3 separate regions of the Homo sapiens genome follow, and regions 2 and 3 are each linked to region 1. Evidence: promoter capture Hi-C in human tissues and cell types (Jung and others, 2019). All regions are on one chromosome and are shown on one strand. Each heading gives the region's core, a stretch centred on a gene start or on the middle of the fragment in contact. The rest is flanking DNA. Distances are from core to core; before and after follow the strand shown. Region 1 holds the start of AIG1 (androgen induced 1). Region 2 overlaps AIG1 (androgen induced 1). Region 3 overlaps HIVEP2 (HIVEP zinc finger 2).

Region 1 (3,228 bases), core at 510-3,009:
AAAAAGGGCACTCTCATAGGACAGAAACAGAACACTGGAGAGGACAATAAGGGAATAAAAGCTGGCCACCCCAGCCAGCAGCAGCAACCCGCTCCAGTCCCCTTTCATGCTGTGGAAGCTTTGTCCTTTCACTCTTCACAATAAACCTTGCTATCGCTCACTCTGGGTCTGTGCCATCTTTAAGAGCTGTAACACTTACCACCAAGGTCTGCCGCTTCATTCTTGAAGTCACTGAGACCACTAATCTACCGGCAGGAACCAATTCCAGACACATTATTAAGGTAGGTAGATCTTCAATAGATCTACTCTTTTTTATTTTTATTTTTTTGGCAGTTTATAACCATGTACCAAGGATGCACAATTAAAAAAATAAAGCCAACTTTTACATTAAGATTTAACCAAAAATCATCAATAATACATCGTTTTAATGCTAGTAGAATCTTCTTCTGACATCAGTTCTATTAGCATAATTATAATGCCAATTAAAAAAATCTAGTGGGTCTCTTCATTTTAGTTTAGAGCTTGATTGGAAACATTCAGGAAAACATCCATGGCTTGCTTGCTACTTTCTCTTTACCTCTAGCACTATGCTTCTCCCCACCAGCCCTCCCTCCACATCCTCTGACTCAGAGACTATTTGAAGAGGACACCTGTTTTAAATGGATCCACAGGAAATACCTATGTTGCCTTTTCATAATCCGAACCTGCAACTGGTTGGCTGAAATGAAAATGTTGCCCACAGACTGATGCAACTTCAGTGTGACAACATTTACTGGAAGGCAGGAGGGACTCCAGTTTATATTTATTTTCCTTCCATTAAGCCCTGGTAGTGTAGTGTAAGAAAAAAGTAAGGGCAAAACCAGTTTAACAACCAGATGATTAGTATTAAATTACACGCAGGGGTTTTACATCCAAAATTGGAATTTTTTAAAGCTGAATGCAATCTTGTGGCAGAAAGTTATTTGAAAATCCTTTCTTTATAGCTTTTTATCTATAAACCTCTTGTCCAAAGTTCATATTCTAGCTGATGTTATATACTGATATGACATTATTCAATCTGTCATGGAAAAGTGCTGCGTAGCCTACCCATTGAAAGCAGAATTGAGAGAGTTTCCTAGTGATTGACAGTCGTTTGTCAACACTGAAAACCTTATTGCCCCAAAATACTGAAAGTCACTCGCGGCTGCCTGTGCTCGGGTTTACACCCCACGTTCACACCCCCACCGGATCCCTCCGCACGGGGCACCAGCTCTCGGCCAACTGCAACTACCCCAGGAAGCGTCACCGCGATTCCGGGGCGGGAACATTTGTGGACACTGGGGTCCACTCCTTCAGTCTAGGTTCCCCGCCCCCTCGCCCGGCCCGGCGCCCACTAGCCACAGGGCCCGCTTCCCCCTGGAGATCAGCGCGCACTTCCCGAGCCCTCGTAGCACTCAGAGGTCGCATCCACACCTGGGATGCCTAGGGGGCGCCTCCTGGCCGGGTGTCCCGGGACCCTGCGAACGCAGGAGCAGAATGACGAAGGTGACGAAAGAGATGACGACACGCCGCCTGCCAGGCCGCGGCCGGCAGTGGAGAGCGTCCGCAAACCGCGCCCGGCCAGTACAGGTCACCCGGGCGCTCGCGGCCGCGCCAGTCCCCGGGGGCGCGCGCCCCGCCCCCGCCCCCGCCCCCGCCCCGCCCCGCCCCGCGCCCGCGCCCGCGCCCGGGTTCCCACGGCGCCCGCCCCCGCGCGCCCGGCGCCTCCCTCACGCCCGCCCTCCTTGCCGCCCAGCCGGTCCAGGCCTCTGGCGAACATGGCGCTTGTCCCCTGCCAGGTGCTGCGGATGGCAATCCTGCTGTCTTACTGCTCTATCCTGTGTAACTACAAGGCCATCGAAATGCCCTCACACCAGACCTACGGAGGGAGCTGGAAATTCCTGACGTTCATTGATCTGGTAAGGCCGTCCCCTCCCCCTGCTCGCCCCGCACCCCGTGCCTGTGTGTGCGTGTGTGTGTGTGTGTGTGTGTGTGTGTGTGGATGCGCGAGCACCTGCGCACGTGCGCGCCTCCAGCATCCACCCGTGTCCTCGCCTCTTCCCCAGTGATTGCGTGTGAAGGCCTGGCTGCCCCCGCAGCGGCACCTTCTGAACCACTCACCGTTACCTGGTAGCTGGGTACCCTTACCTGGCAACTGGGGGACAAATGGAGGTGGGGCGCAGCCAGGTGGTGGGCTCTTTGGAGGGGGACACCGAACTGCTTCTAAGAGGTGACACGGGAAGAATCTTCAACAAAAGCATCGGACCTGATCCTGAATGGCCTGAGACCCATTCGCCCTCAAGGTGCTTTTCAGAGCACCCACCGTGGGATGAACTTGTTGCAACTGAAGGAAACTGGGTATTGTCTAGTGATTTGGAACTTCACCTGAAAGAACCAAATCCTTCTCATAAGGGAGAGAAAGCACCTAATAAAGTTGTCTTCTTTGCATCTGTTTTTTTCCCCCATTGTCAATAATTTACTTTCAACCTTTACCCCGTACATATTAGGAGACAGAGATGTTCAAAGTGCATTTCCAAGGTGACTGTACACACTTCTCTGTCTTCCCATGTACAAATTTACAGTAGTTTGCATAAGCAGCTCCTCTGTTGGCACAATATGATAATCTTGACAGGTGCAGGTTATTATTAGTATATCATTTTGAAAGTTTTTCTATTTCTGGCACTAAAAGGCCCTCTTCAACCTCCCTGGAGAACAGAACATGGGCATAAGGCCCAATAATGAACTCATGGATGGACCTAGGAATTTCAGGGTAAAGGTGACTAAGACACACGCTAAAAGATTATTAGGAAGAGGCTTAAAACAAAAGCAATGAAGTTCTAAAGCACTCAGAGAAATTGTAGAACCAATTCCTGGGACTCCCTGAACTGTTTATCCAAGACTATACAGTTGGTTGGCTACACCAGCAAGATTATAATCTCTTGTTGACCCTCCATTCTGATGAAGAGAACATGATACCTGTTTTAAAAATTTCCAAAGGCTTAGGATGCCTCAAAGAAATGCAGAGAGGCTTTTGGTTTAAAAATAACACCTTATATTTGCATTATATTAGATACTTTCAGAGTGGAATTTCAATTCTGTTGCCCAGCAGTCTCCAAACTGTGCACATACCCTTAGGCCCACAAGACTTCACAGGGTATAGAATGTTGCAAGGGTTTTAATTTTCAGATCCTCATCTTCCAACTCTGCTTG
Region 2 (3,550 bases), core at 187-2,686, 140 kb after region 1:
ATTTCCCATAGACATTTCCTATGTAATACATCCATACTGAAATTTGGACTCCCACATCCCTCCCAAACCTATTTCCCGTCTCAGTAAATATCAGTCATCGCCATCTACCTTGCTGCTCAAGACAGTAAAGTAAATCATTTAGTTTGCAGAGAGTCCATGGGACAATTCTATCAGGAAGCCCAAGCAGATACTACTTTATTATGAAATATTCTTTGAACCCCAGACTGTTCCCAAAGTGGCTGAAGTTTGTAGTCCTTAAAAAGAAAAGTTCCCAAACTGAGTACAGTGGCTTGTGCCTGTAGTCCCAGCTATTTGGGAGGCTGAGGTGGGAGGATTGCTTGAGCCCTGGAGTTCGAGACTGTAGTGAGCTATGATCATACCACTGCACTCCAGCCTAGGTGACAAAGTGAGACTGTTTCAAAAAAAAAAAAATCTTAAAAATTAAAAAGGTAAATCTTTCTGATGTAACTTCATTGCTTCATAGCTGTTTGATTTAGGCACCAGTGCTAGCTTTAAATTTAAATCTGTGGTTGCCTTTGCGCTATATATTTTTAAAGGATATTGTGGGCTACTTATACTAAGAAGTTAAGCTCTTTGAGTCTGACCACACTTGGTTACAGACAGGACTATCCTCCGTGGGTCCCACAAGTAGAAGGGACCCTACGAATAATCTGAGAGATGCAGATGTTGCTCTTCTATCCATCAGATTAGAAATCCACCAGTGTGGACATCTCCAAAACCTTTACTATGCCCAACCTTTATTAACGCTTAATTCTCCTCTTTGTTACGGACCTGGGGATCCTTTCCTTCCTATCCTACTAGGTCTTGAGAAAATGAAATTAAAGTAGGCTTGCATTTTATTCAATCTGGAAAGGCACAATGATTTGGTGGAAAGATAGCCTGCTTCTAGTTCCACCTCAGGAACTAGCAAGTTAGTTGTAAACCTGATGAGTAGAGCCATCCTTACGTTTTTTCTGTACCTTCTTCCACATCAAACACATCAGAACAACGAACTCTGCTTGAGTATTTGCTTTGTGCCAGACACTGCCCTAAATAACAGATGAGGGAACTGAGGCTTAGAAAGTTAGTAAATGGCACAAAGATACCCAGTTAATGCAAACCCACAATTTAAATCCAGGCTATTCAAGTCTACTCTTACCAACTCTCTTATATCGTGTTGCCGAGAAACGACTTCTGGATTTCTTCTTCCTCTCATTCCTACTGTGCCATTGATGTAAGAGGTACCATCAATTTAATTTAATAACAGTTTTCAGGAAATAAAGTAAGCACTACCAAATCAAGTGTAGTTATAGTGGGCCTGCCTTTTAAAATTCTAACCAAGTTTTTTTCCTTCTTGGTAATTCCTTTTTTACTTCATGTCCCTGAAGCTAAAATCCTCAGGGACAGCTAATCACAAAAAAACAGGCAGATTCTTGGCTATTGACTTCTAAAATTGGGTCATGCAACTCATAAAAGATAGCCAGGAGCCAGGGTTGGTTTTTGATTTGGTTTGGTTTGAATTATAAGACAGAATTTGTTAAAGATAAACTTAAAAAAATTCTTTAATGTTTCCTTTGCATATCAAGGACTAAAGCCTGACAATTCTCACATCAACAGTAGAGTTTGGGGAGAATTAAGGATGATGTCAGAGAAGCTTCTTGTCCCAAAAGAGATTATGTTTTAGCTGCTGGCGGGAGGAGAATCTGCAGTTTAGGTGCTGAAGGACCCTGAGAAGGTTCTGCATTCCCTCGTGCCCCTGGAATGGGAGATCACTGAAACCCCAGAAGTGTTTTGAGAAATCCCAGCATATGGGGAACCTGGATTTGATTTCTAGAGCTTCACTTCCCGGGAGAGGAAGCAAGCAGCATCACAGAGGAGTGGAAGGCCGCAATCACTAGCGGAGGTGTCCCAGCAACATGGAAAATATTTTAAGATTCATGTCCCAAGAGGCTGCCCTGAGAGAGTCAGAAGGGCCTTGATAACCTGATGAGGGAACATCATTAGTAAATTTGATGTGCATTCTCTGTGCTGGAGGCTGTGGAAACAGAAACAATGTCTGCAGCAAAAGCAGTGTGGGTAGAAGTCTCCATCAAAGATGAGAAGGTAATGAACCAGATACCTCCCCTATGATGCCATGATACATATGGGCCTTCTTAGAATTACTATCCCAGGAAAAGATAAGGAAAGTTAGAACTCTAATTTGATCATGTTTAAATTCTGAATATGACTGCAAAATAACTGAACAAGATTTAATCTCTTGGAAATGGCTGTAGTTTCAGCAGCTGAATTACTGAAGGTCACATAGCTAGACAGTCCTGTGGCCAGGATTCTAGTCCAGGCAGTCTGACTTCACAGTCCATTCTCTAAACCTCCACACTGTTTTGTACTGTTCTATACTCTACTATCTCCATGTTTCCCACAGCCAGATGGAATAGTGGCTCGAGACCTTAAGTTAAATTACATTCAAGAAAGATAAAGGGTGATTACAAAATTCACCTTTTGACTTTCCACATTAATTTCAAGATGCATGTAAATTTCAGTAAAATGTTTTAGACTGGAAGAAGTTGAAGATATATTCACCTCTCTCCATCTCTACTACCAGTGCCTAATCTATGTCTTACCTAGACTGTGCCCTCTAAACTGGGGAGATTAGGCTTCTCTATGTACTTAGGAGCAAGAAAACTAGGACCAATGGATGGAAGCTTTAAAAACAGAATTCTGTATAGAATCAGAGAGAGTTTCTCACAGTCTCAGATATCCAGAGATAAAATGAATATCCTTGGTTGGATCCATGAGCCATATCCCTTGAGATGCTGTATCATGGATGAGACACCTACAACAAAGAAGGGACCTTATGAAGAAGAATTCGACAGAAGACATGGCTGGATGATTTTAGCCTTTTACGTCTCTTCCAATTTTGAAATTCTGCCACTTTAGAATGGAGGTTGTGAAAACCAAATTGCCTTGTGTTTGCAGAGTGGGAAGTGAGAAAATAAAAACAGTAGGTATAAAGTACTCTTTTAGAGATGGCTACCACTGAGGGAAGCAGAGTTTTATTGTATAACATGGTGGGACTGAGGGAAAATTTTAACACTGGGAAAAATTGAGCAGATTTGTAGATAGAAGAAGGAAGGGAATTAGTTTAAAAATGCAAAACTAAAGGTTAGAGAGGGCCCTGTTCCAGTATCCACTGTTGTATAATGTACTTCCTCAAAACTTACTGGCTTTAAACAATAATCACTTTGTTATAGCTTAGGATTGTGTTGGTCTGGAATTGAGGCAATGCTCAGCAGGATGATTCTTCTGTTCCACATGTGGATGACAGAGGTGACTCTGTGGTCTTTGGCTGACATTGTCTTGTGCCCTTGGTGGGAATGGCTGGAAGTCTGTGCTCAGCTAGAACTGTTGACCAGAGTGCCTACATGTGGCCTCCACAGCCTCTTAGGGTACTCTGACTTTTTTTGGCAGCTTGTAGTTCCCAGAGCAGTACTCCAGGAGGTGAATTCCACCAGCCTCTTAGGGTAGTCTGACTTTTTATTGGCAGCTTATA
Region 3 (3,422 bases), core at 741-3,240, 160 kb before region 1:
TAAATGTTCATTGGAGACACTTAAACAATTATGTGAAAATAAAATGTTTTCTGGACACAGAACACAACATTTTCAATAGTTCAGCCCTTGCTGTTGATTGAATGTACACTTTAAACCACCATTTCCCTTCTTATCTATGCCAGTTAGTAAGCATAAATTTAAGAAACTCTGAAATAAACATAGTACTTCACTTATACAGTGTCCTGGACTTGGACTTCACTTTGATGGACTCTCAGTATGTAAGTAAATATCTCTTAAGTTGAAATTCTATTGAAACTATTCCCTGATTTCTGTACTTGGAGTACAATCATTTTGTTTTAATTGCTATGTATTGAAGAATCCACAAAATATTAATGTTATAACTATGTTATAATACTAATGCATTATGCATTCCTGCTCGACCCCATAAATTAATGTACCAGTACCATATATGCATATATACCAGTACAAAATTGCAGAAAAAAAATGACTCCGGTGGTTCCCATTAATTCACACACTAATTCTGATATCAAGGTTAACAAAACAAAACAAAAAGGTGAAATCACCACTATGGTGGTGCTCTCTTGGACTCCTTTTTAAAGAGTGTTATCAACAAGGATGTCTTCTTAGAGTCTACGATACTCATTTCTCTCATCCATTTCATTCTTGCTTTATTGCTAATGATTGCACCAAAACAAAGCAAATGATTGCACCAAAGCAAAAAAAAAAAAATTCCATCTTAGTAGCAATTTGATACTTTAAATAAATCTCTGAAAACCTTTTCCACCAGAAGTGTCCTAACAGTGACAGATCATTTTGCACTATATACACAGAGATGGAACACAGCTATGCACTGAGGAATATGGAGGGGGCAGGAAGTGACTGAGATGCAGCAAGCTCACTTACCTCAGACTAAACACAAAACTTCATAGCAATATTAAACCCAAATTTCCAGTCATTTTTAGACTTAAAAACCCAATTCAGCCTGTCTGAATTTCAACTCGTATTTGGCAAGTACCTCCAAATGAAAAAGTGGGAAATTACAAAGATGAATTTGAGGACACACATTCTACTTTTGTTCCCCACTTGTCACACTTATCCTCCCCAAATATTATTTACCCATCTGTTTTATACATTTACCTTTAAAAATCATTTCCGGAAAAATTAGTAATTAACATTTTGAAAACAATGCTAGAGTAAAAAGGTTACAGTGTCACATATACTTTCCTTTAACAATGTAAATTACATAGTTCCTTGTAAAGCTGTTGTTCATGTTGAACAACAGGACCTCAAACTTGAAAAGGCAAAATTAAGCCTATGAGAAAACACAGTAGGTGCAGTATCAGAGGTGAATGTGACATTTCATTCCAAGCACTATTGCACACACACAACTGATAAATTTCCTACCAGTACACTCAAGTCTAAATCATAATTCAATATGGATATTAGTCCATACTCTTTCTGAATGAAAATAAGGCAACCCAATGAAACTGATGACATGATCAAAAAAAGATAAACAGCCCTTTTTACCCTTTAAAAGAACAAAGGAACATAAGAATATTTCTATTAATACTGATATTTTAAAGCATAACACCATAACCTATATTACTCAGCAAGATCAGTTTATTATCCATTTGTTTTCATTTATCCCGAAGATCATTCTTAGTCTTTCTACTTGTATCAGTTCAATTTGTTATCCTCACACTATTATTATCAGTTAAGTAACCCTGGGTAAACTGTGGTTTTCATATCTATTGACCTGGGATAACACAGGCTGATATGTCATTAGCATAAGCTTGTCCTAACAAGTATGACTCCTCTCCTTTTAAGATTTGTTAAAACCGACTTAATTATATTTTCTTAACTATCTTGATGATTTGGGTTGCCCACTTACTTTATAATATTTTGGATATTACAATTTATCTTTTTAAACTAAGGGAAAACAACCTTTCATTCACTTTTTAAATCCTTCCTCCATTGTATGAAATATTGGAAGACATATTGAATTCCCATCTCTAAATAAGAGTTAAGAAAGATACTGCTCAACCATCTACCAATAAACTATTACCAGATAACTTAGGTTATTTTAAAATAATTATAAGATCAATTAAACCAATATAAAGAAAATCTTGAAATGCACTATAAATTCCAAAAGTGCATCCTGTTTACACAATAAGATCTGAGCCTCAGAAAAAGAAAACCAACAAGGCATGATTTAGGTAATCAATACGGGGGCCCACTAAAATGATTTCTGCAAACGACCGGTGAGTTGAGCTCACATTTAAAAATGTACTATTACTTACATTTTAAAAGCAAGACACTGGAAAGTAGTGTTACAAATGCTCAAAAGCTCATGGAAAAAAATAATTTCCAAACATGGAGTGTTTTTCAAGTGTTTAATAAATATAAGTATTTTTGTTTTTAAAACCTGAGGTTAAATACAATTCTTAATTTACTAGCCAGATTCACTGTACTCAGAAATTCCTGCATATAGTTTTCATTTACTGTCTAATTTATCAATCTATAAATCTACATTTAATCTGAAAAAATTATATGACATAATAGACCCTTTAACTATTAATGGTTCAAACTGTTAATTCCCCCCACCATGGTCATGGTTTTAGAATATACAAGTCCGTAAGAATCCAAGCCACTTGACAGTAGACCAAGAAGCAACATAAAAAATGATAATCAGTCCGGGCGTGGTGGCTCACGCCTATAATCCTAGCCCTTTGGGAGGCCGAGGCGGGGGCGGACCACTGGAAGTCAGGAGTTCGAGACCAACCTGGCCAACGTGGCAAAACCCCATCTCTACTAAAAACACAAAAATTAGCTGGGCGTGGTGGCACATGCCTGTAATCCCAGCTACTTGGGAGGCTGAGGCAGGAGAACTGCTTTAACCCGGGAGGTGGAGGTTGCAGTAAGCTGAGATGGCACCATTGCACTCCAGCCTAGTTGACAGAGTGAGACTCTGTCTCAAAAAAAAATTAATAATAACAATAATCAGAGAACAACACTATCTTTATCACTGTAATTTTTAAATAACTTTGAAGGCATTCATGAAAAACTAACCAGAAACAGATAATCTAGATTAGGTAAAGCTAATATCATTTAAATGTGCAAAATAACAAAACGAGAATTAAATCACATTGAGAAATAGTAGAACCAAGTAGATATAAGGTAACAAGAATTAATATTTAAAATATATAAAAAGCTCATAGAAACTTACTTTTCAAAAAATAACTAAGAAATAAATTAGAAAAGATATGCCAAGTCAATCCAGACAAAGAAATGTAACAAATAAAGAAACCTCTTTAATTATTATTAAAATGCAAACCAAAACAACAATGCAGTCAAAATTTTTACTTTGGCACAATCATGATAAAAATGGGAAGCAATTTGAAAATGAGGACCATGTATGATAAAAAATATTCATTCCCTTT

The links. The method cuts DNA at HindIII sites, captures the fragments that hold promoters and counts their contacts. A contact is called where the count stands out against the background at its distance.
Region 2: a fragment that was not itself captured here is called in contact with the fragment with the promoter of AIG1 in region 1 in 2 of the 25 tissues and cell types used here (H1 embryonic stem cells and small bowel).
Region 3: a contact is called between a fragment that was not itself captured here and the fragment with the promoter of AIG1 in region 1, in 1 of the 25 tissues and cell types used here (hippocampus).

What each region holds. Positions count from the first base shown.
Region 1 is chr6:143,059,130-143,062,357 of GRCh38, forward strand. It overlaps AIG1 (androgen induced 1), which reads left to right and starts at 1,760. Exons shown (of 6, transcript NM_016108.4): 1 at 1,760-1,937. The coding sequence starts at 1,797. RefSeq lists enhancers at 756-1,694, 1,520-1,649, 2,250-2,299 and silencers at 1,650-1,739, 1,990-2,059. The HindIII fragment of the contact is 7,626 bases long and covers 1-3,228 here.
Region 2 is chr6:143,200,938-143,204,487 of GRCh38, forward strand. The region is part of intron 3 of AIG1 (androgen induced 1); the gene reads left to right. Among named protein-coding and RNA genes, the nearest start is that of AIG1, 140 kb to the left of the region's middle. The HindIII fragment of the contact is 4,346 bases long and covers 1-3,550 here.
Region 3 is chr6:142,903,177-142,906,598 of GRCh38, forward strand. All of the region lies in intron 1 of HIVEP2 (HIVEP zinc finger 2), which reads right to left. Among named protein-coding and RNA genes, the nearest start is that of HIVEP2, 40 kb to the right of the region's middle. The HindIII fragment of the contact is 8,846 bases long and covers 1-3,422 here.